7 separate regions of the Homo sapiens genome follow, and all the other regions are linked to region 1. Evidence: promoter capture Hi-C in 16 types of primary human blood cells and fetal thymus (Javierre and others, 2016). All regions are on one chromosome and are shown on one strand. Each heading gives the region's core, a stretch centred on a gene start or on the middle of the fragment in contact. The rest is flanking DNA. Distances are from core to core; before and after follow the strand shown.

The links. The method cuts DNA at HindIII sites, captures the fragments that hold promoters and counts their contacts. A CHiCAGO score of 5 or more calls a contact.
Region 2: a contact is called between a fragment that was not itself captured here and the fragment with the promoter of STIMATE in region 1, in 1 of 17 cell types (naive CD4 T cells). The highest score is 5.3, in naive CD4 T cells.
Region 3: a fragment that was not itself captured here is called in contact with the fragment with the promoter of STIMATE in region 1 in 2 of 17 cell types (M1 macrophages and naive CD8 T cells); the score reaches 5.7 in M1 macrophages.
Region 4: a fragment that was not itself captured here is called in contact with the fragment with the promoter of STIMATE in region 1 in 15 of 17 cell types (naive B cells, non-activated CD4 T cells, M0 macrophages and 12 more); the score reaches 9.7 in naive B cells.
Region 5: a contact is called between a fragment that was not itself captured here and the fragment with the promoter of STIMATE in region 1, in 6 of 17 cell types (naive CD4 T cells, naive CD8 T cells, M1 macrophages and 3 more). The highest score is 7.7, in naive CD4 T cells.
Region 6: a contact is called between a fragment that was not itself captured here and the fragment with the promoter of STIMATE in region 1, in 3 of 17 cell types (M2 macrophages, M1 macrophages and M0 macrophages). The highest score is 8.4, in M2 macrophages.
Region 7: a fragment that was not itself captured here is called in contact with the fragment with the promoter of STIMATE in region 1 in 6 of 17 cell types (total B cells, naive CD8 T cells, non-activated CD4 T cells and 3 more); the score reaches 7.0 in total B cells.

The regions. Positions count from the first base shown.
Region 1 is chr3:52,896,146-52,899,118 of GRCh38, reverse strand. It overlaps STIMATE (STIM activating enhancer), which reads left to right and starts at 1,571. Exons shown (of 8, transcript NM_198563.5): 1 at 1,571-1,828. The coding sequence starts at 1,669. STIMATE-MUSTN1 (STIMATE-MUSTN1 readthrough) reads left to right here and starts at 1,571. Exons shown (of 10, transcript NM_001198974.3): 1 at 1,571-1,828. The coding sequence starts at 1,669. RefSeq lists a silencer at 1,309-2,018. The HindIII fragment of the contact is 2,208 bases long and covers 286-2,493 here.
Region 2 is chr3:53,113,898-53,116,870 of GRCh38, reverse strand. All of the region lies in intron 6 of RFT1 (RFT1 glycolipid translocator homolog), which reads left to right. Among named protein-coding and RNA genes, the nearest start is that of RFT1, 15 kb to the left of the region's middle. RefSeq lists an enhancer at 1,338-2,537. The HindIII fragment of the contact is 552 bases long and covers 1,125-1,676 here.
Region 3 is chr3:53,094,882-53,097,854 of GRCh38, reverse strand. The region is part of intron 11 of RFT1 (RFT1 glycolipid translocator homolog); the gene reads left to right. Among named protein-coding and RNA genes, the nearest start is that of RFT1, 34 kb to the left of the region's middle. The HindIII fragment of the contact is 6,189 bases long and covers 1-2,973 here.
Region 4 is chr3:53,078,244-53,081,216 of GRCh38, reverse strand. It overlaps a transcript of RFT1 not described here. Among named protein-coding and RNA genes, the nearest start is that of SFMBT1, 34 kb to the right of the region's middle. The HindIII fragment of the contact is 1,105 bases long and covers 1,004-2,108 here.
Region 5 is chr3:53,060,325-53,063,297 of GRCh38, reverse strand. It overlaps the pseudogene SERBP1P3. Among named protein-coding and RNA genes, the nearest start is that of SFMBT1, 16 kb to the right of the region's middle. The HindIII fragment of the contact is 4,855 bases long and covers 1-2,973 here.
Region 6 is chr3:52,740,818-52,743,790 of GRCh38, reverse strand. It overlaps NEK4 (NIMA related kinase 4), which reads left to right. Exons shown (of 16, transcript NM_003157.6): 12 at 330-439; 13 at 2,292-2,380. Among named protein-coding and RNA genes, the nearest start is that of NEK4, 29 kb to the left of the region's middle. The HindIII fragment of the contact is 6,871 bases long and covers 1-2,973 here.
Region 7 is chr3:53,037,098-53,040,070 of GRCh38, reverse strand. The region is part of intron 1 of SFMBT1 (Scm like with four mbt domains 1); the gene reads left to right. Among named protein-coding and RNA genes, the nearest start is that of SFMBT1, 7.5 kb to the left of the region's middle. The HindIII fragment of the contact is 9,921 bases long and covers 1-2,973 here.

The DNA of each region.
Region 1 (2,973 bases), core at 322-2,821:
TCACACTTAGCTGTGGGAGAGAGACATGTGTACAGCTGTCAAATTTAGCAGTCTGAAAAGTTTTGGTGGAACAGTACACACTAGGTAATGTGGGAGCAAGAGGGAGAGGGAGGTCAGAAAGGCTTTGACACATGAGGAGCAGTTCATGGAGCAGGGAAAAGGGAATGGCATCCATGCAGCTAGAATGCTACATAAAGGCACAGAGGTGTGAAAATGTAAGAGAAGGCTGGAGAATTGCATTTTTATTCTCTAATCAGGTTAATATTCCTGTTCACCAAGAAAGCTTTTAGCTAGCATATAACCCTCTTAGGTAATTGGAATTTGGGGGGCTATTTAATAGGAAACTTTTTCCTAGAGATGATATTTACCGTTGAAAACACGTAGCTCAGTATCAACTGGACTTACACCATATGTTCACTGACATTCTGCAGCAGGAAGGTCAGCGGCTCTAGAGCACCAACAAGAAGGTATCCAGAGAGAGCCCAGATTGGGCTGGGAGAATGGGTGAGTGTCAACTGGACTTACACCATGTGTTCACTGACATTCTGCAGCAGGAAGGTCAGCGGCTCTAGAGCACCAACAAGAAGGTATCCAGAGAGAGCCCAGATTGGGCTGGGAGAATGGGTGAGTGTCAACTGGACTTACACCATGTGTTCACTGACATTCTGCAGCAGGAAGGTCAGCGGCTCTAGAGCACCAACAAGAAGGTATCCAGAGAGAGCCCAGATTGGGCTGGGAGAATGGGTGAGAGAATGGGGACTCAGGGTCTTGTTAAAGGCAGAGCACAGGTTCTGAGAAGTTGGAAAGGGTTAGATGGGAGTGTGTGTGTGCAGGGGGATGTTGGAGCCTGGAAAATACCAACCATTTGTCTTTTACACTCTAAAGGTAGTTGTGCTCCCCAAGTGAATAAGGTGGGACATGTGCACGTCAGGTTTTCAGTGTGAAACCTGGTATATTTCCAAATGAAAGTGATTGGATTCAGGTGACCATTTAAATTATGTCTATGAAAAAAGAAAATAGACTTGGGGCCTTGATAAGCCTTTAGCTAGGGAAGTAGGAAAAAGACTCAAATGTCTGGGTTGGAGGGAAGACTCCTGTACTCAGTCTCAGATTGTTTTCCTTATTCACTTGCTTCAGAATAATCCAGGCTGCAAACTATTGGGACCCACCCCAGAACTACTGAATCACGATCTCTGAGGGTGGAATTCAGGAATGATGATAATTTCTCCAGGATATAGGGATTTTCCTTAGAGGGAAAAATAATTTGACCACAGGCCGTCCCAGCTCCTACCTCCGGACCTGGAGCTCGTGATTCCCAGGCTCTCATTCCGGTCTGCGGTGGCCGGCTCACCTGGCCTGTCTACCTGCGGGCGTGGCGGGGTTGGAGAGGGGAGCGGGACCCGCGACCCCGCCCCGTGGCCCGGCCGGAGCCCCGCCCCTCGGGGGCGGGTGGGGAGAGCTGCCGCGGCCGAGGCCCGCCCCAACCTTGGCTGCGCCAATCAGGCACTGCGATCTCAGACGTCGGGTTACGCGCGGCGCGGAGTCGGCGGCCGGGCGGAGGTACCGGCTCAGGCTTGGGATCCCGGCTGCGGGTTTGGCGGCGCTGCGCCGGCAGGCAGCGAGGCCGGGCGGGCCCTGGGCCCTCGCGCCCCTCCCGCGAGGCCTGTCATGCAGGGCCCCGCCGGGAACGCGAGCCGGGGACTGCCAGGCGGGCCGCCCTCCACAGTCGCGTCCGGGGCGGGCCGCTGCGAGAGCGGCGCGCTCATGCACAGCTTCGGCATCTTCCTGCAGGGGCTGCTCGGCGTCGTGGCCTTCAGCACGTTAATGCGTGAGTCTGGGACCCCCCGACCCTCCGGAGGCCCTGCGCGGCAGCCGCGGCCCGGCCCCCCTGGGGGCCCCTCCTGCGCGGAGAGTTCAGGCCTTGGGACCCGAATTGCTCCTCCCCCGCAAACCCAGGCTGGGTATTCCTGCACTAGGGGTAGCCCGAGCCCCTCACCTACTCGCTGTGGCCTCCAGACAGGAGTGACCCTTCCCCTTTCCACCTTAAACGTCTGTCTTTTGAGACGCCAGTCTAAAACTCGCCTACCTCCCACCTTACCATCTCGAATTGTTACCCCACTTCCCAGCCTGGAATCATGACCCCCAAGGGTGACATCCCCTTGTCCGCCCCTTCTCAGGGGCTCTTCGTGCTTAGAACCCACATCCCTCAATCCCCAGTGCGATGCTGAGCTCTTTTCTGCCCCTTCACTCTTCAAGGATCTGCCTTCTCCGTTCACATTTAAATCCTGCTACTTTGCATCCCTCTCAACACCTGGAGTGTTAGGGCCATGCCTTCCGTTTCCCAGTACCCGCCTCCCTCTCCGTGGCCCTTCTTCCTCAGCTTTAGTTTCCCTTTTGTCAGGGTAGGACCCACCCAGTCTGCCTTCTTCCCCAGATCCCCTTCCTCTCGTTTCTTCCGGAACAGGCCCACCTGTTCCATCTCTGTCCCAAGCTTTCCTAATAAGCCGCATCTATAGCTTCCCCTGGCTGTTCCCTTTCCACTTTTATTCTTTATATTTTAAGTTTCCTTTTCCATTAAACTTGGGCACCTTAGTGGCTGAATAGAGAAGGAAGCCCCCACCCTGTTCTCATGTGTGCTGATGGGGGGTGGGGGGGGGCTTCTGTTTTTCATCGTGTGCATCCTTCCCTTATTAAAGTAACAAGAAGTTTTGCTCGACATGTAAGCCTAGGAGTGCCCTTGTGACTGCGTTTTAGGGGGAAGGAAAGGTTATAACTATCTGTGCAGAGTCATTAATTCCAAAAATGACTTGTTCTCAAAACTTCCCCACTGTGCTTGTGTGGACAGAGTGGAGAGTTCCTGCAGAAAGTATGCTTTGGGGTACTCAGGAGGGATCTTGCAGCTGTGTGCCTTTGTCTTGTGGGGTCCAGTTGCTGGAGTGGCCACCTTGCTTGTTTATAACTTGGGGTTTCTTT
Region 2 (2,973 bases), core at 151-2,650, 220 kb before region 1:
AGCACTTTGGGAGGCTGAGCGGGCAGATCACTTGAGGTCAGGAGTTGGAAACCAGCCTGGCCCACATGGTGAAACCCCGTCTCTACTAAAAATACAAAACAGTTAGCTGGGCATGGTGGCATGCGCCTGTAATCCCAGCTACTTGGGAGGCTGAGGCAGGAGAACTGCTTGAACCCAGGAGGTGGAGGTTGCAGTGAGCTGAGATCGCACCACTACACTCTAGCCTGGGCAACAGAGCAAGACTCTGTCTCAAAAAAAAAAGAGAAAGAAAAAAAGAGGCTGGGTGTGGTGGCTCAAGCCTGTAATCCCAGCACTTTGGGAGACCGAAGTGGGAGGATTGCTTGAGCCCAGGAGTTTGAGACCAGCCTGGGAAACATGGTAAGAACCCGTCTTTACAAAACATGTAAAATTTAGCTGGGCATGGTGGCACATGCCTGTGATCCCAGCTACTCTGGAGGCTGAGGCAGGAGGATCACTTGAGCCCTGGAGACTGAGGCTACAGTAAGCTGTGTTCATGCTACTGCACTTTAGCCTGGGCGACAGAGTGAAACCCTGTCTCAAAAAAAAAAAAAAAAAAAAGAAATGAGATGATTCTGAATGCATGAACGCAGTGTATGACTTTACCATGAGCAGCATGCCTGACTTGACTCCCCAGAGCAGCTTTCTGCACTGGGGACTTCCTTAATGGAAGCTGGTCAAATAATTATATTTACTATCAATTTGACTTAATTGTAAGATTTCCCTTCCTGTTCTTGTAGAATTCCATCTTCTTTAAAGATGCTTATTTAACCTTATAATAAATTAATGATACTTCAAATAATGGCTTCCGTTTATATTCATTGACATTTCTGAGGGATTTAATATGAGAGATATGCTAATATTTAAGTAAAGCTGAGGAATTTGACTCAGCAAGCATGTATTAAACATTATTATATGTTAGGCACTGTACCAGGTGCCCTGAGTGAGGCCCCTACCCTCAGAACTTGCATGGTGATGGAGAGATAGGATCTGTACTCAACTATGCTATAGGACAGTGTGTGTCTAGCGTTATCAAAATAGAAGCACAGAGGAAGGACTGCTGAATTCCATCTAGGAACATCAAGGAAGGCTTCACGGAGGAAGCTTCTTTTGTGCTGGACTTTGACACATGGGTGGGCAGAGGTTAAATGTATATGTGTGGTAGAGATGGGCATTCGTGACCACAGAAGGAAAGAAAATTTGCTCAGTGCTTGTTACCTGCCCATCATTGTGTTGGAATTGGGAATGTAGAGATGACTGGGGTACTTAGGTTGGCTGGAAAATGGGGGAAGGGAGAGAAAGGAAAAGGTGGCGGGAAGTTATGAAGGGAAGTAAACCTGGCTGCCAGGCTAGGGTCAGGTGGCAGTGGCCTCAGTGCTATGGAGCTTGGGTTTAATTCAGGGGCAGTGGAGCCTAATGAAAGGTTTTTGAACAGCACCATGATCAAACTGTCTGTATTGAGGAGCTTGCCGTCTCTTACAGAGTTATAGTGTCTTATTTTTTTTCATTCAGTCCTCATACTGGCTCCATGAGACAGGACTTCTTATCCCATTTTGCAGATGAGAAAGCCAAGGCTTAGCAAAATTAAGTATCTTGTTCACGGCGACATTTACACTAATAATTCAAGGAACTGCAGGTCGAGCCCCAATCTCCAAGCTTGACTCCAAAGCCTGAACCTGCAATGAGAAGGATAGGCTAGAGAAAGAGTAAGAAGCAAAAAAAGCTCATTGGGAGCCTGTGGCAATTGTCCAGGTGAGGAGTAAGGACAGGGGGAGGATGGATGAAAGTGGGAGGATGGATAAAGCTGGGGCAGCATCAATAGCCCCAGAGTGACTGGGATAGGTGGAGCAAGAGGGAGAGGAAGGAGTGCTCTGTAGGGTGGAGGAGGTGACAGAGGGCAGTGGACAGGATGGTAGCCCCACACTCACCAGTGACTCTTGTCATTGTGGTAAGGATGTGGCTGATCATATCATCCTGAGTCAGAAGAGTTTGGGAAGTGGACGAGTGACTCAGGTGAAAGTGTGATGAGCCTCTGAGTTCTGATTCCAGACCTTCCCTGGAGTTACCATCCATCACCTTTTACCACCTTAGCCGCCATTTCTCCGTTAGTACAGTGAGGGCAGTGGAATGGCTTGTTGGTCAGGGTATTCCAGGGAAATTCCTGGCTATTTAGATCAGCTCATCAGTACCAACCCAGCTATTGTGAAATAGGCCTCTTTTGACCGCCCCAAGTGACACCTCCATTCTGAACCTCCATTCTGAATAGAATGGTAACAGTCCACCATATGCTTCCTCTCTCCCACCACTCAGCCCCTGCCTGCAGAAGCCGCATCTCAGATTGGATTTCCTGCCTCTGTGTCCTTAATGAGCACTTTTAGTAAGTGGTGTCACCATTCCTTCTGAACCACAGGCCCATTTAAACCAAAGGCATTAGGAAAATCAAGTATGAGCTCTCAGATTAGGTACACCATCATGATCTCATTCTCCCAAAGAACTTTGTCTTTAAAGAGCTCAATCATCTTCCCAAATCCATTCACAACCTGCAGGCAAACAGGCATCACGAGAGCCTCATGACAAGCAGCAGCCTTCGTTTCCTTTTAAAAGGGGACAGGTCCTGCTTTGCTGACCCCTGGGAGGACCACCACAGCATGGCAAGGGGTGAGGAGCAGTGTGAGAGAGAGAAGGTGCTGAAGCCGGCTGTGGTCAGAATCCAAGTCTGAAGATGACGTGGTCCCCAGTGCCCCCTAGTGGTAGGAAGTTGTCTGGTGCTCTTTGTTCCGGGGAAAGGAGATGGCCTGTTTTAAACATCTTGTGGCCCAATTTCCTTCTCATCAGGGAAGATTTACTCCTGGGCTAAAGAGATAACCTGGCATCTGCTCTAGGTTCTCTGATTCCCTGAGGGCTGCACTGTTTGGGAGGATTCACACTTGCACTCCCTGTGTCTGGAAAAAAGGC
Region 3 (2,973 bases), core at 386-2,885, 200 kb before region 1:
TATGGATGAAAAAGTCTATTTCAATTTAGCTTTGAAAATACAATGTTTTTATTTGAAAGCTACTTCTAACATTGAATAACTTAAAAATATAATTGGAAACATGTGAAATGAGGCACTGTTAGAGTGGAAAGAGCAGGACTAGGAGTGTATCTCCTTGAAGGGAATTTTGTTACGGTAACTTCAGTGTTAGTGTTGAAGGGGTGAATGAAAACCAAACCCATTTAAGATGTTTTTATACATTGCAACCAAATTGTGAGGGAATATGGATAGTGGCTGGTTGCTTTCTTTTCTCTTATATTGTATTGAACCAAAGGAAACAACTTTTTAAGTTAGCTGTAATGGAATTTCGATAGTATATAAACATGTGGAAAATTATTTTCATAGTATTAGTCAACATAGAGAAAAAACAGAGCCCAGAGCACCTTCTAGTGCAGTTCCCATGTGGGGTAACTCACCTCCCCTAAGAGTAAAATGTGATATTAAGTGCAGTTTTCAGACATGTATAAAACACAATAGTTCCAGTTCTTTCTGGGCCCCTGGCCCCAGCGCCTGGCCCTGGTCTGAGCACGTGGAATACCTGGGCTCATCACAGACGTTGGCATTTTTTTTTTTTAATCTCTGTGAATTTTAACAGACAAAAAACTCTAGCAAGGATTTTTATAGTAGAATTGGATAGCTTAGTTAACTGTTACAATCAATTATAATGACTTTGCATTGGACATTTCAGATTCTGAATAGAAAAAAAGCAGGCATTTTACTTAACCAACTTAAGGTTAACCAGTGTTTTTCTGAATAAAAATAGAGCATTTGGGCCGGGCACGGTGGCTCACACCTGTAATCCCAGCACTTTGGGATGCCAAAGCAGGTGGATCACCTGAGGTCAGGAGTTCGAGACCAGCCTGGCCAACATGGTGAAACCCTGTCTCTACTAAAAATACAAAAATTAGCTGGGCGTAGGGGCGCACGCCTGTAATCCCAGCTACCCGCGAGGCTGAAGCACAAGAATCACTTGAACCTGGGAAGCGGAGGTTGCAGTGAGCGGAGATCATGCCATTGCACTCCAGCCTAGGCAACAGAGAGATTCTGTCTCAAAAAATATATAGAGAGAAGAGAGCATTTGGTTGTATATGAAATATTAAAACATCCTTTGAATTGCAGGTTGCTTTTTTTTGAGACAAGAGTCTCGCTCTGTGGCCCAGGCTGGAGTACAGTGGTGTGATCTTGGCTCACTGCAGCCTCCGCCTCCCAGGTTCAAGTGATTCTCCCGACTCAGCCTCCCGATTAGCTGGGATTACAGGTGTGCGACCATGCCCAGCTAATTTTATTTTTATTTTTAGTAGAGACAGGGTTTCACCATGTTGGCCAGGCTGGTCTCGAACTCCTGACCTCAGGTGATCTGCCCATCTCAGCCTCCCAAAGTGCTGGGATTATAGGAGTGAGCCAACGTGCCCGGCCTGGTTGCTTTTTTTTTAATAACCTCATAATATATATAGAATCTGATTGATGGATTTTTCATTATGCCTTATTGAAGAATTTTTGTTGTTTTGTTAAGGCTGTCTAATTTTCTTTCATTTCGCAAATACTTTTGAGCATCTACTCTCTAACAGGCATTGTTTTAAGCTCTAGGAATACAGCAATGAATAAGACAGATGGGATTTCTGCTCTCCTGGAGCTGACGGTGGGGAGGCAGATAGCAAACAAGTAAATTAATAAGAAAATGTGATGTGCTGAGAATGAAAACGGGTATATAGTGAGTGGTAGGGGCCCTTTAGATTGGGTTTGCTGGGCAGGCCCCTATGGCACAGCGCCATTTAGGATGACCAAGAAGGTGGTCTAAGATGGGGGCAGAGACTTCTAGGCAGATCAGTTGTGTAAAGGCCCAAGATTGACAGCTCCTTTGTCTGATTTGTTGGCCTTTGAGTGCCAAAGTGGACTCCATAACTGTCAAATGAAGGCTGGGTATGATCTTCTCACTTTGGCACATAAGATATCAGTGCCATCCTTTTCATGGCTGTGAAGGCTCGATTGTATGGCTGTGCCTTGATGTATTCAACCAGCACCTGCTGGGGGCTTCTTCAGGTGGTGCTACAGTTGATATCCTCGACCATCCATGCCTTTTTTTTTTTTTTAACTTTTTTTGAGACAGGGTCTCACTCTGTCGCCCAGGCTGAAGTGCAGTGGTACAATCATAGCTCACTACAGCCTGACTTCTTAGGCTCAATCGATCCTTCCACCTCAACCTCCTGAGTAGCTGAGACTATAGGTGTGTACTACCATGCCCAGCTAATTTTTGTATTTTTTGTAGAGACGGAGTCTCTGGGCACCATGTTTCCCAGGCTGGTCTCCAACTCCTGGGCTCAAGCGATCTGCCTGCCTTAGCCTCCCAAATGCTGGGATTACAGGCATGAGCCACTGTGCCCAGCCAGTCCATCTTTTAATAAGCCTGATTTTAAGTCCAGTATTTTCTTGGGACCATGGAGAAATAAGTATTCATAAATAATTTACTGTTTATGTTAACCAAACCTTACAGGATAGTCATATTGTCACCGATTAATAATTTTGCTTTGATTTTAAAAAGTGATTTTTTTTTTTTAAGACGGAGTCTTGCTCTGTCTCCAGGCTGGAGTACAGTGGCGTGATCTTGGCTCACTGCAACCCCCGCATCCCGGGTTCAAGCAATTCTGCCTCAGCCTCCTGAGTAGCTGGGACTACAGACGTGCACCACCAAGCTCAGCTAATTTTTGTATTTTTAGTAGAGACAGGGTTTCACCATGTTGGCCAGGACGGTCTCGATCTCTTGACCTCGCGATCTACCCGCCTCGGCCTCCCAAAGTGCTGGGATTACAGGCATGAGCCACCGTGCCCGGCCAAAAAAGTGATATTTTAATTGCATTTTTAAAATTCTCATTTTTTCCTGAAGTGGATTATGCCTTTAAGGCTGTAGATTTGTGAATTCTGGAAAGTTCAGCAGCT
Region 4 (2,973 bases), core at 307-2,806, 180 kb before region 1:
GCCTAGAATGCATGGCGTTGATGAACTCAGGTCACCGTTTCTTTCCCTTGGCTTCATTTGGGCTGGTTCTTATGATGTCCTCAGGAGCCCTGGAACCAGCACTGCCCAGCCTCATCCTCACACCTCTCCCCATGCCCCAGCCAGGGAGGCACTCGCCTGTGTCAGGCCTGGTGGCCCTGTTCTTATGACCCCCCTAGGCTGCTCTGTCCCCATCAGGCTCCTCGTCCTTTCTTGCAACAGCCCTATATTCTTTCTCCCTTGAGAATTAGAAAGGCAGGTGTGTGTGGTGGGGCCAGGAGTTTGGCGGGGAGGGAAACGTGTCCAGAGAGGGCTTTGAGGCAGCTGTGGCTTTGCTTCCCCAGGCCTAGTCACTGGACCCAGCCCAGCTACCCTGCTACCCTACCCCCTTCAAGCTGTGAATCTTTGAGCAAAGTGCTTGATCCCCCTGTGCCTCAGTTTACTCATCTAAAAATGGGCACAATAGCACTTGCCTCATAGGGTGTAGTAAGGAGTGAGAGGAGGTAGGTAAAGCACTAGACAGGGATGCCTAGCTCTAGCCTAGTGGACTTGAACGAGTGGAATTTTAAATCTGCCCAACACAAGGTTACAGAGGGACTGTGGTCCCTGGAATCGTTTGTTTCCCCACTACTGCTTCCTCCTCCCACCTAACCCCAGTCCACAGAAGTGCACGTGGTGGTGGAGCATCTTTTAAAATTCCAATGGAAACATTGCTTTACCCTCTCCTGAAAGACGAAGCTGCAGGTGAAGAAGAAACGAAAACTGCTTTTAGGCCCAGCTGGCCCTGCAGGAGCTTTGGCGGGTAAGGGTGTCAGGCAGGGAGACTGTGCAGAGCCAGGCATCTGGATGTGGATTTGAGGTGTCCTTAGCCTTGGAAACCCCAGTGACTAGGCCCGGGGAAGAAACGCCATGGCTGCCAGCAAATGCTCTTTCAGACACACATTCCGCACACCTCCCCAGGACAAGAAGGGATGCTCCAGAAGCTTGTTAAATGATTTCCACCAATTTCAGAAATTGCCTCAGCTAGTTGTTTATATTTCCCATCAGCCTTAGATTAAGACAGAAAGAAAATGGGGCCCTGGCGTCAGGAAAGAAGGTGGCTTTGTCCAGGGAGGGACAGCTGCTGTGGCAGTTTCTGAAGAAAGTGGAAAGGCATGAATGGGCCCTGCCATGTGTTGGGTGGCCACAGGCATGAGCTCTCCTGGTCTCGGCTTTCCAAGGCCCGGGCCACGGTGGCCCACGAGGACACCCCTGCACCCCCACATGGCCTCACCCACCAATTGCCAATGTCCTCACCTTGAACCCACTCATCACAGGCTGATCCAGAAACTTGCTGAGTTTTGTTTTGTTGCAAACACTGATTTGCTTTGTTGTTTTTTTTACTTCACTGGGATGTAGGATGCCAGGTTAAGATGGACTGGTTTCTCCTGCCAGAAGCAGCTTTGAATTTAGGATGCCCAGAGGGTGCTGTCTTTTTCTTTTGACAGAGTCGTGGTCTGTTGCCCAGGCTGGTGTGCAGTAGTGCGATCTAGGCTCACTGCAACCTCTGCGATTCTCCTGCCTCAGCCTCTCAAGTAGCTGGGATTACAGGCGCCCACCACCATGCCCAGCTAATTTTTCTATTTTTACTAGAGACAGGGTTTTGCCCTGTTGGCCAGACTGGTCTCGAACTCCTGACCTCAGGTGATCCACTCGTCTCAGCCTCCCAAAGTGCTGGGATTACACATGTGAGCCACTGTGCCCAGCCTAGGGTGCTGTCCTGAACACTATTGATAAGGTGGAGTTTTCCTGGGAAGGGAAGAGTGTTCTGCCTACAGACTTGTGGACATCAGGGAGACACCAGATGTGTCTGGGCCCAGCGCTGATCCTTGGGGAAGGTGTGAGGCCATGGACATTTGGGGTGTGGGTCATATCTGAGTAGTGGGGATCCATCAGGCCTTCCTCTTCCTCCTTCTCATTGTCAAAGAGCCGTGACCTGAGTGTACCTGGTTCTGATCCGACAGCCCACTGCTAAAGGCCTCCCTCATTTCTATCAGCGTCTGTGGGACATTCCCTTCAACTGTGCAGGAGTCCTGGTTGCCTTTGAAGCTTGGAAATGATGTTTTACCACATCCCCACTGCCCACTGGGCCAGAGGACCTGCTGTTGATCCAGACAATCAACAGAGCTGGAGAGCCCGGAACTGTATTCCGATCCCAGCCCTGCCTTTTACTCCTTGTGAGATCTAGCAGGTAGCTTTGCCTTTTCTCCATCTGCAGAAGGTTCTAATAATCCCTGCTCACTCTTGCTCCAGGGCCATTGTGGGGCCAAGGAAAAGTTGGGGTTCAGCAGTTCTTTGGGGTGGAATGGAGAGTTGGAGAGCCAGTGGGCCTGTGCATACCAAGGCTGGAGCCTGGGTCCTGCAGGGGAGCTAGTCCAGCACAGAGGTCACGGTGGAGATTAAAATATTCCTTTTTTTGAAACAGGATCTGGAGCTGCTGCCTGGGCTGGAGTGCAGTGATGCAATCATAGCTTACTGCAGCCTCAATCTCCAGGGCTCAAGTGATCCTCTAGCCTCAGCCTCTGGAGTAGCTGGGACCACAGGCATGAGCCACCATACCCGACTAATTTTTTAAAAATTATTAGTAGAGATGGGGTCTCACTATGTTGCCCAGGCTAGTCTCACACTCTTGATCCTCCCACCTCGACCTCCTAAAGTACTGGGATTACAGGCGTGAGCCACTGTGCCTGGCCAAGTTTAAAATATTCTATACCATGTGTTATTTTTCCTGATAAGTGATTTTATCTCCTGATATTATGTATTTTATGTATTTCTTGCTATTTAATTACAAATTATCCTGAGGGCAACCAGTGCCCTGCAGAAAGTCACAGAAACACTGGGTCCATGTCCTGCCCGAGGCCAGTCCTGACTTTGCCCGTGGTACGCACCTGTGCCGTGCTCACACTGTCCTGCACA
Region 5 (2,973 bases), core at 247-2,746, 160 kb before region 1:
TTGCATGGTTCATCAGGTTCAAATTATAACTGATTTACATTTTTAACTATATTTACTTTTTAAATGCATGACTTTCCTATTTTAAAATCTAAACTAGACATCTTATTGGTGAAAGTTGTTTAAGCTACTTATTGTTGGTAGACACATCCTGTCAAGTGAAGTAGCTTTACAGGTATGGGTTTCCCCGCCCCGCCTCCACCAGGGTGGGTGGAATAAGTTGATTTGGCCAATGTGTAATATTTAAAGTGTTCTATACAGTAAGTGTCTGGCCATTTGGTATGATTTCTGTGTGTGAAAGATCCTAAAATCAAAATGGTATATCCATAATCAGCAACCATTTAAACCTTCCTTGTTCTAAAACAAGCAAAAAAATCTAAAGGGCACTGGTTGGTAGGATGAGGTTGGGGAGTATTTTAATTTTTGGAATTTGGGAAGCAGACAGCTTTACTTTATAAGGTTAGAACAGCAGCACCATCCATTAAATATAAACCGAAAATCTTTACTGTTTCTAAATTTCCTAGATTGTTATTATTTGGTCCTAAGTTGAGTATTTGTTCCACAGAAAGTAATAATTATCTTCTCCCTCTTCCTCCATTAGAAAATTAGGTTAATAATGGATTCCTTTAATGGGAGCATCACCACGTATTAAAACATCCATGGAGAGAATGATGAATAAGAAAAGTTTTCTAGGATTGTCTTTTATTCTGCCACATTTATTGTTAAACAGGGAAGGAATTTTTAAAAAAGTTTTAAGAATCGTTCGTCACTTCATTTTTAGAAATGTTCTACCTGTATATGGTAATGTCCAGTTTTAAAAATATTGGACATCTTCAATCTTAAACATTTCTATTTAGCTGATTGGTTCTCACATATACTTCTAAAAGGGAAATTGTGCATTACAAGAGTTACTTATTTGGATTAGATTTATTAATCTCAGTTACCTACTATTCTGATATTTTAGGAAGGAGGTAATTGTTTTTAATGATGGATAAACTTGTGCTGGTGTTTTGGATCTTATGCTGAGCATGTTCTGCACTGATGCTAATGTCTAATATACCTGCTACCCAGAGATTAATTTAGTCCGTAAGGACTATTGACCCCTCTTAAGACTGCAACATACACACTCCTAAATCAGTGTGTTTAGATTTTTCAAGTATCTAACTCATTTCTGAACATGTACCATGTTTATAAACCTCTGATTTCCAGCAGCATATTATAGAAAACACCTGCTATTAAAAACACTTCACAACTTCTACGCAGTGTCACTCATTGCTATCTTGAGAGACAACACAGCAATACCTGGTATGTTGCAAGTTTTCAAGATAGCCAGAACTTAAAAAGTTGGTCCATTAGTTGTATCTGATGGATATAAATTTGCCTCCTAGTTCACTTTGTATCAAGAGCTAAAATTGTGAACCTTTCTCTTACTGGTGGGTAATAACTGAAAATAAAGATTTATTTTCATGCTCACTTCTTTTTTTTTTTTTTTTTGAGATGGAGTCTCGCTCTGTCACCCAGGCTGGAGTGCAGTGGTGCGATCTCAGCTCACTGCAATCTCCGCCTCCCAGGTTCAAGCAATTCTCTTGCCTCAGCCTCCCAAGTAGCTGGGAGTACATGCCACCACGCCCAGCTAATTTTTGTATTTTTAGTAGAGACGGGGTTTCACCATTTTGGCCAGACTGGTCTTGAACTCCTGACCTCAGGTGATCCACCCACCTCGGCCTCCCAAAGTGCTGGGATTACAGGCGTGAGCCACTGCACCAGCGTCATGCTCACTTCTTAAAAGTCATAAAGACAATCAAATAGGATCCTGTTTATCGTCACGCGTTTCCTGGTTTCTGAACTGTGTGCACATCCTTGTGTGCTTTTTTTTGTGATGGAGTCTCGCTCCTGTCGCCCAGGCTGGAGTGCAATGGTGCCATCTCGGCTCACTGCAACCTCCACCTCCCAGGTTCAAGCAATTCTTCTTCCTCAGCCTCCCGATTAGCTGGGATTACAGGCGTGCACCATCACACCCAGCTAATTTTTGTATTTTTAGTAGAGACGGAGTTTCACCATGTTGGCCAGGCTGGTCTCAAACTCCTGACCTCAGGTGATCCACCCACCTTGGCCTCCCAAAGTGCTAGGATTACAGGCGTGAGCCACCGCGCCTGGCCTCCTGTGTGCTTATGTTTAATTTTTTAAATTGAATTTTATATGGAGTTTTTATTTGCTAAAAACCAGGCTGTTGAATCACTTTTGGAAAGGGTACCTATCTTAATGACTAACAACTTAATTGGGAAAGTTGAGTTCTTGTAAAATAGAAAACAAGGACTTCTTGGATTAAATCCAACTGTCACTTCTTAGCAGATCATTTTTTGATAGTGAAAGTTAAGCATACTGAATGCTACTTTTTATTGACAAACTGGCTATAATACTCTAGAAGAAAAAAATCCCTAAATGGATACAGATTCCTAAAGTAATAGTGGCAGCAGATGTTTCAGTGAACTTTTATCTTGACACTTTTAAATAGAAGTAATGCCAGAGCTGAAATTTTTAAGGCACTTACAGCTTGTATCGAAATTATTGGAGACATGGTTTCTTCATTAGCTATTTTGAGAACTGTGGAGTTATGCAAGATTTTTAAAAAGTGGCACCAGGGGGCCAGTTGTGGTGGCTCACGCTTGTAATCCCAGCACTTTGGGAGGCCAAGGCAGGCGGATCACCTGAAGTTAGGAGTTCAAGACCAGCCTGGACAATGTGGTGAAACCTCGTCTCTACTAAAAATACAAAAAATTAGCGGGGTGTGGTGGCGCATGCCTGTAATCCCACCTACTCGGGAGGCTGAGGCAGGAGAATCCCTTGAACCTGGGAGGCGGAGGTTGCGGTGAGCTGAGATCACGCCATTACACTCCGGACTGGGCAACAAGAGCAAAACTCCGTCTCAAAAAAAAAATGTGGCATCAGGTACTATACATCTAGTTAGTTCCTTTA
Region 6 (2,973 bases), core at 272-2,771, 160 kb after region 1:
GACCATGTCTTAGGCATTATGGTAAACATATTAAGGGTATTATCTCATTTCACATTTACAGTACTGCCAAAATATGCAGCATTATCCTCATTTTGCAGCTAAGGAAACAGAGGCTCTGAGGAGTTAAGTAACTTGCCCAAGGTCACAGAGCTGGTGGACCTAGAGCTAAGATTTCAACTGAGGTGTCAGACACCAGAGAAATGATAAATATGCTGTTTGACTTACTTTTGGGCTAGCTCCTGCTGGGGTATGTTCCATACCAAATACAAAGCCCTTTTCAACTGGGGCAGCCCACCACAAACAACTACTGGGGATGTTTGCCTTTTCAGGCCCTTCAGTGAGGAAAGCGTCTCTGAGTGTAGCAGGGCCAGGAAAACCCCAGGAAGAAGACCAGCCCTTGCCTGCCCGACGGCTCTCCTCTGACTGCAGCGTCACTCAGGTGCATTACGTACTCCTAAGAGAGAAGGTGGACAGTCTACATCTGGCAGGCCTAATGCAGTAAACCTTTTAAATGTCAGCTCCATTTATTTTTGGGACAGGGCCAGCTTGTTATATCTTTTCACTCTTGATAAAGAAAGGAACTGGTAAATAATAGTCAAAAGGATTATGATTGACCCATTAAGGGAATAAATTTTTCAGGTACTCTTGTAAACAATTGATAGCCTAATTAAAAATATTTCATAGGTTGGTCTTAACAGGACTTCCTGGCCTGATGCAGTGGCTCACGCTTATAATACTAGCACTTTGGGAGGCCAAGGTGAGAAGATTGCTTTAGCCCAGGAGTTTGAGATCAATCTGGGCAATATAGTTGGACCCTGTCTCTAAGAAAAAAAAATTACCTGGCAAGGTGGCGCACACCTGTAGTCCCAGCCACTCGGGAGGCTGAGGTGGAAGGATCACTTGAGCCCAAGAGGTTGAGGCTACAGTGAGTTGTGTTCACACCACTGTGCTTTAGCCTAGGTGACAGAGCAAGACTCTGTCTCAAAAATATAAATAAATAAATAAGTAAATAAATAACAGAACTTTCTAAGGGCTTGCACTAGGCAGCACTTTGCTCAATCTGCTGTGATACCAACATACCCATCTGTGTCGCCAGATTTGAGTCTCACTTGCTAATCATTCCTCAGTTTCTTATTTGTGTCAATGTAGTTTACCTTCTTGCCTGTAGATGATGTAGGGACACCATCTGGTGGCTAAATGGGTAATTACTAGGTTTCTAACCCATGTTCACCTCTCTGTATAATACTCTGGGAATTCTTCCTGTTCTTTGAAAGTATTGGATGTATTATTTCTTTAACTATATCATTTAGTTATTTCACTAATAGAGGCTGCCTTCCATATCTCAGAGTTGTAAGGTTTATGTGTATTTTTAGGTGATCCTTTAAAGCACTTTAACAGTCTCACATTAAGAGCAAGCTGAAGCTGGGCATGGTGGCTTGTGGGTGTTATCTCAGCTACTTGGGAGGCCAAGGAAGGAGGATTGCTTGAGCCCAGGAGTTTGTGGCCAGCCTGGACAACATAGTGACACCCCTGTATCCAAAAAAAAGAAAAAAAAAAAGACAAGCTGAGTTTGCCTAGGTAATTTAAAATGCCAACATTCCTATAGAACAAGCCTTCTGCTTAGGAGTTGATAAACCAGAACTAGCCATCCACTGTCCTCTGGAAATTTCTTCACAGCTGAGACTCTCCAGGACCTTTGTAAAACTTCACCTTGGGCAGGCGCGGTAGCTCATGCCTGTAATCCCGGCACTTTGGGAGGCTGAGGCAGGCGGATCATGAGGTCAAGAGTTGGAGACCAGCCTGGCCAACATGGTGAAACCCTGTCTCTACTAAAAATACAAAAATTAGCTGGGCGTTGCGGCACGTGCCTGTAATCCCAGCTACTCGGGAGGCTGAGGCAGGAAAATCACTTGAACCAGAGAGTCGGAAGTTGCTGTGAGCCGAGATCGTGCCACTGCACTCTAGCCTGGCGACAGAGCAAGACTCTGTCTCAAAAAAACACAAAAATCAAAACAAAAAAAAAACAAACAAAATAAAAAACTTCATCTGATGTTCTTCAGTTATTCTTGTGGACTTTATGAGTGAACTGGGATATCACGGGTAAAATCACTTCAATGTTTTTTTCTTTTTGCCACAAATCATATGGGAACAATTTTTGTATTTGTTAGATTCTCCTGTTATATTGCACCTAGGAACGTATTGTGTCTAGTTGTTGCATCTAAGACTGGTTCAAGTATCACATTCTGGTTGTGTTGTCATGTAGAATTTTAATTCTTCCAAACATTTAATAGGAAAGGAAACAGATTCATTGTCTGTCTGAGGATGAGTTAAGTTCTTCTACAAGTTCAACTGATAAGTCAGATGGGGATTACGGGGAAGGGTAAGTTCTTGTTTTTCTGTCTCCCTTTATAAACTATTTCTGTTTTAATGAATATTAAATGTGCATTTTCAGTAGTATTTAGATCTCTAGTATTCCCACTGATAAAATTATAAATGGTTTGTGGCATATGCTGGAGCTAAAAGTGTCTCTTCTTTTTTTTTTTTTTTTTTTTTTGAGACGGAGTTTCGCTCTTGTTGCCCAGGCTGGAGTGCAGTGGCACAATCTCCGCTCACTGCAAGCTCCGCCTCCCGGGTTCACACCGTTCTCCTGACTCAGCCTCCCAAGTAGCTGGGACCACAGGCGTCCGCCACCATGCCCGGCTAGTTTTTTGTATTTTTTTAGTAGAGATGGCGTTTCACCGTGTTAGCCAGGATGGTCTCGATCTCCTGACCTCGTGATCTGCCCACCTCGGCCTCCCAAAGTGCTGGGATTACAGGCGTGAGCCACCACGCCCCGCCTGGCCATTATTTCTTCACATTTTTTTTTTGGACTTCTTCCTGCCCTCTTAGGGATTCCAATTACATGTATATTAGGCTCCTTAAATATGTGCCACAGCTCACTGATGCTCTGTTTATTTTTACTTTTTAAAAATA
Region 7 (2,973 bases), core at 345-2,844, 140 kb before region 1:
GTGTTAAAAATAGTATATGGTAATTTTGAATTGTAACTTTAAGATACCTTTTGGTCTCATTTTGACTTGCGTCATAAAATAACCCTCTTGGAGTGGTTAGATGGTGATCACACCAATGCACTTAGCATATTGCCTGTCTAGAACATAGTGATATATAATGAGGATATAAATTTTTATTATTAAAAATGTTTATATGTAACAAACCTGCGCATCCTGCACATGTATCCTGGAACTTAAATGAAATCAAATAAAAAAAAAGTATACCAAAATTAGCCAGGTGTGGTGGCGGACACCTGTAGTCCCAGCTGCTTGGGAAGCTGAGGCAGGAGAATTGCTTGAACCCAGGAGGTGGGGGTTGCAGTGAGCTGAGATGACATCACTGCACTCCAGCTTGGGCAACAGAGAGAGACTCTGTAAACGTATGGTTGTGGTAAGTTATATACATATAGCATGAATTGTACCATTTTAACCACTTTTACACGTACAGGTCAGTGGCATTAAGTACATTGACATTGTTGTGTAACCATTACCACCATCCATCTCTAGAACTTTTTTAATCTTCCCAGACTGGAACTCTGTACCCATGAAACAGGGATTCCCCAACTCCCCTCCTCCCACCCTAGACAACCACTGTTCTACTTTCTGTCTTTATGATTTTGACTATTCTAGGTACTTCATCTAAGTGGAATCATACAGTATTTATCCTTTTGTGATTGCCTTAATTCACTTAACATAATGTCTTTAAGGTTCATCCATGTTGTAGCATGTGTCAGAATTTTTTTTGAGGAAGTAAATTATTTGAAAGACTTCCACAGCAGGTAAAGTGGAGGTCAGGTCACAGAATACTGTTTGCTAGGATTTGTTTACCTCCCTTGGAAGAACTCCGTATGTGCCCAGCAGAGCCTAGAGAACCAGGTACCTTGTCCTTAGATACAGTTTGGGCACACTTGCTTATTCGAACAAAAGAAACAGAGCAGATTGTGACAGCAGGGTGGAAGACAAGGAGAACATAAAAGCAAAGGTTGCAGGAGTCCAGGGTAACATTGAGTAAGGAGTAAGGCCTTTTGGGTCTCAGGATGCCATCTTACTGTGTGATCACTGACATTCGTGGTGTGGGCCTGTGTCAAAGCATGTCGTCCAGAACAGTTAACCAAAAAAATATGTGTGTTCAGAATTGTAAATAAGCCTTCACCTATCTGAAAGGCATATTCAGTGACTCAATCCCCAGCTGTTCTGGTTAGTTGAGGTTTTGCCATATTTCACTCTTGTTTCTGTATTGATAGAAAACTAGTACGTGTTTAAAAAGGCTTAATGACTTACATAATAATGATACCACCTAATTAATGCTTTGTATTTTAGATTTGCTGTATCACTTTAATTCTGTATTTGTGAAATATAGATGTCCAATCCTGGTTGGAGAGAAAGCAGGTTTGACAGTTAAGGGTAATAGAGAGTTGAGCAGGTATGTACTTTCAGAATGGTTAAAGAGTTATATTTTCCTCCATTATTATTTTTAATGGCTGTATTAATGTAGTAAATGTGGGATGAGTTTCCTAATACTGTTTGTTACCGGGGGGAGGCCATCTCTTAATTACTGTCCTTTCTTCATGGCAAGGATGTTTTTGACTTTCTGGAAACCATTGAAGAATAGACAGTAAATGTCATGAAGCCTGATTTTTATTGTGCGTTGTGTTACTATTCAATTCTTAAGAATGGTTAGTTGTTTCCTAGAGTTAGTAAGGCTTTTCTGAGAAAGTATCAGTTTCTTTGGCATGATGTTGTCTAATAGAGCATAGAGCCACGGTAGTAAAAGTCAATGGTTAGGGGAGGAGATACAGGGTAGGAGACAGTTGTCTAAACTGGAGTGCCTGGGCTCAAGCACTTCTCCTGCCTCAGCCTCCTGAGTAGCTAGGACTACAGGTGCATGCCCCAGCACCTGGCTAATTTTTTAAAACATTTTTTTTTTGAGACAAAGTTTTGCTCTTGTTGCCCAGGCTGGAGTGCAGCGGTGCAATCTTGGCCACCTCCGCCTCCTGGTTTCAAGTGATTCTACTACCTCAGCCTCCCGAGTAGCTGGGATTACAGGTGCCTGCCACCATGCCTGGCTAATTTTTTGTATTTTTTGGTAGAGACAGGGTTTCATCATGTTGGCCAGGCTGGTCTTGAACCCCTGACCTCAGGCGATCCATCCGCCTTGGCCTCCTAAAGTGCTGAGATTACAGGTGTGAGCCACTGCGCCGGGCCTTTAAAACATTTTTTGTAGAGATGGGGTCTCTCAGTGTTGTCCAACCTGGTCTCAAAACTTCTGGCCTCAAGTGATTCTCTAGCCTCAGCTTCCCAAAGTGCTGGGATTACAGGCATGAGCCACTATGCCCAGCCTGGTTTTCATTTTTATCATTGAGCAAAATGAGCAGGGTTGGGTGGTCTAGCTAAAGATAGAAATTTGAGAAACTTCGGGTGTATTATTGTTGTTATAGGTGTTTATGATGGTATTAAAACATCTGAATCCCTTGATCTCTTAATGTAATTAATATTAATTTAATTTTATTTCTCTTTTAATGTTGGCTTTCCAGTCCTCAATCAAGTTATAGTTGCACTTAAAAATACGTAGTTTTCTTTATCGTTAATATGAATAACACCATATGCAAATTGGGAAACAGGCTTAGATCTTCTCCTAGGCATTATCTGTACCCAGTTTTCCTGTAAGTATTCAATTGGGCTCCTCAATCAACAGAGAAGAGCTTCAAATGACTTTCTTTGTTGTCAGGCTCCATTCTCAGGAATGGCTATGACAAGGGAAGCAGAGGGCTGGGTGGTCTCTTCTGGCCTCCCCTTCTAGGGAGAGTCTTCCTTTTCTGCAGCAAGTGCTTGAGGAGGGCTGCATGATCCCGCAGCCAGTCAGGGCGGTAAGACACAACTGCCCTCACCCTAGCTCCTCTCCTAGCCATTGACTTTTACTCCTGTTTTTGGCTT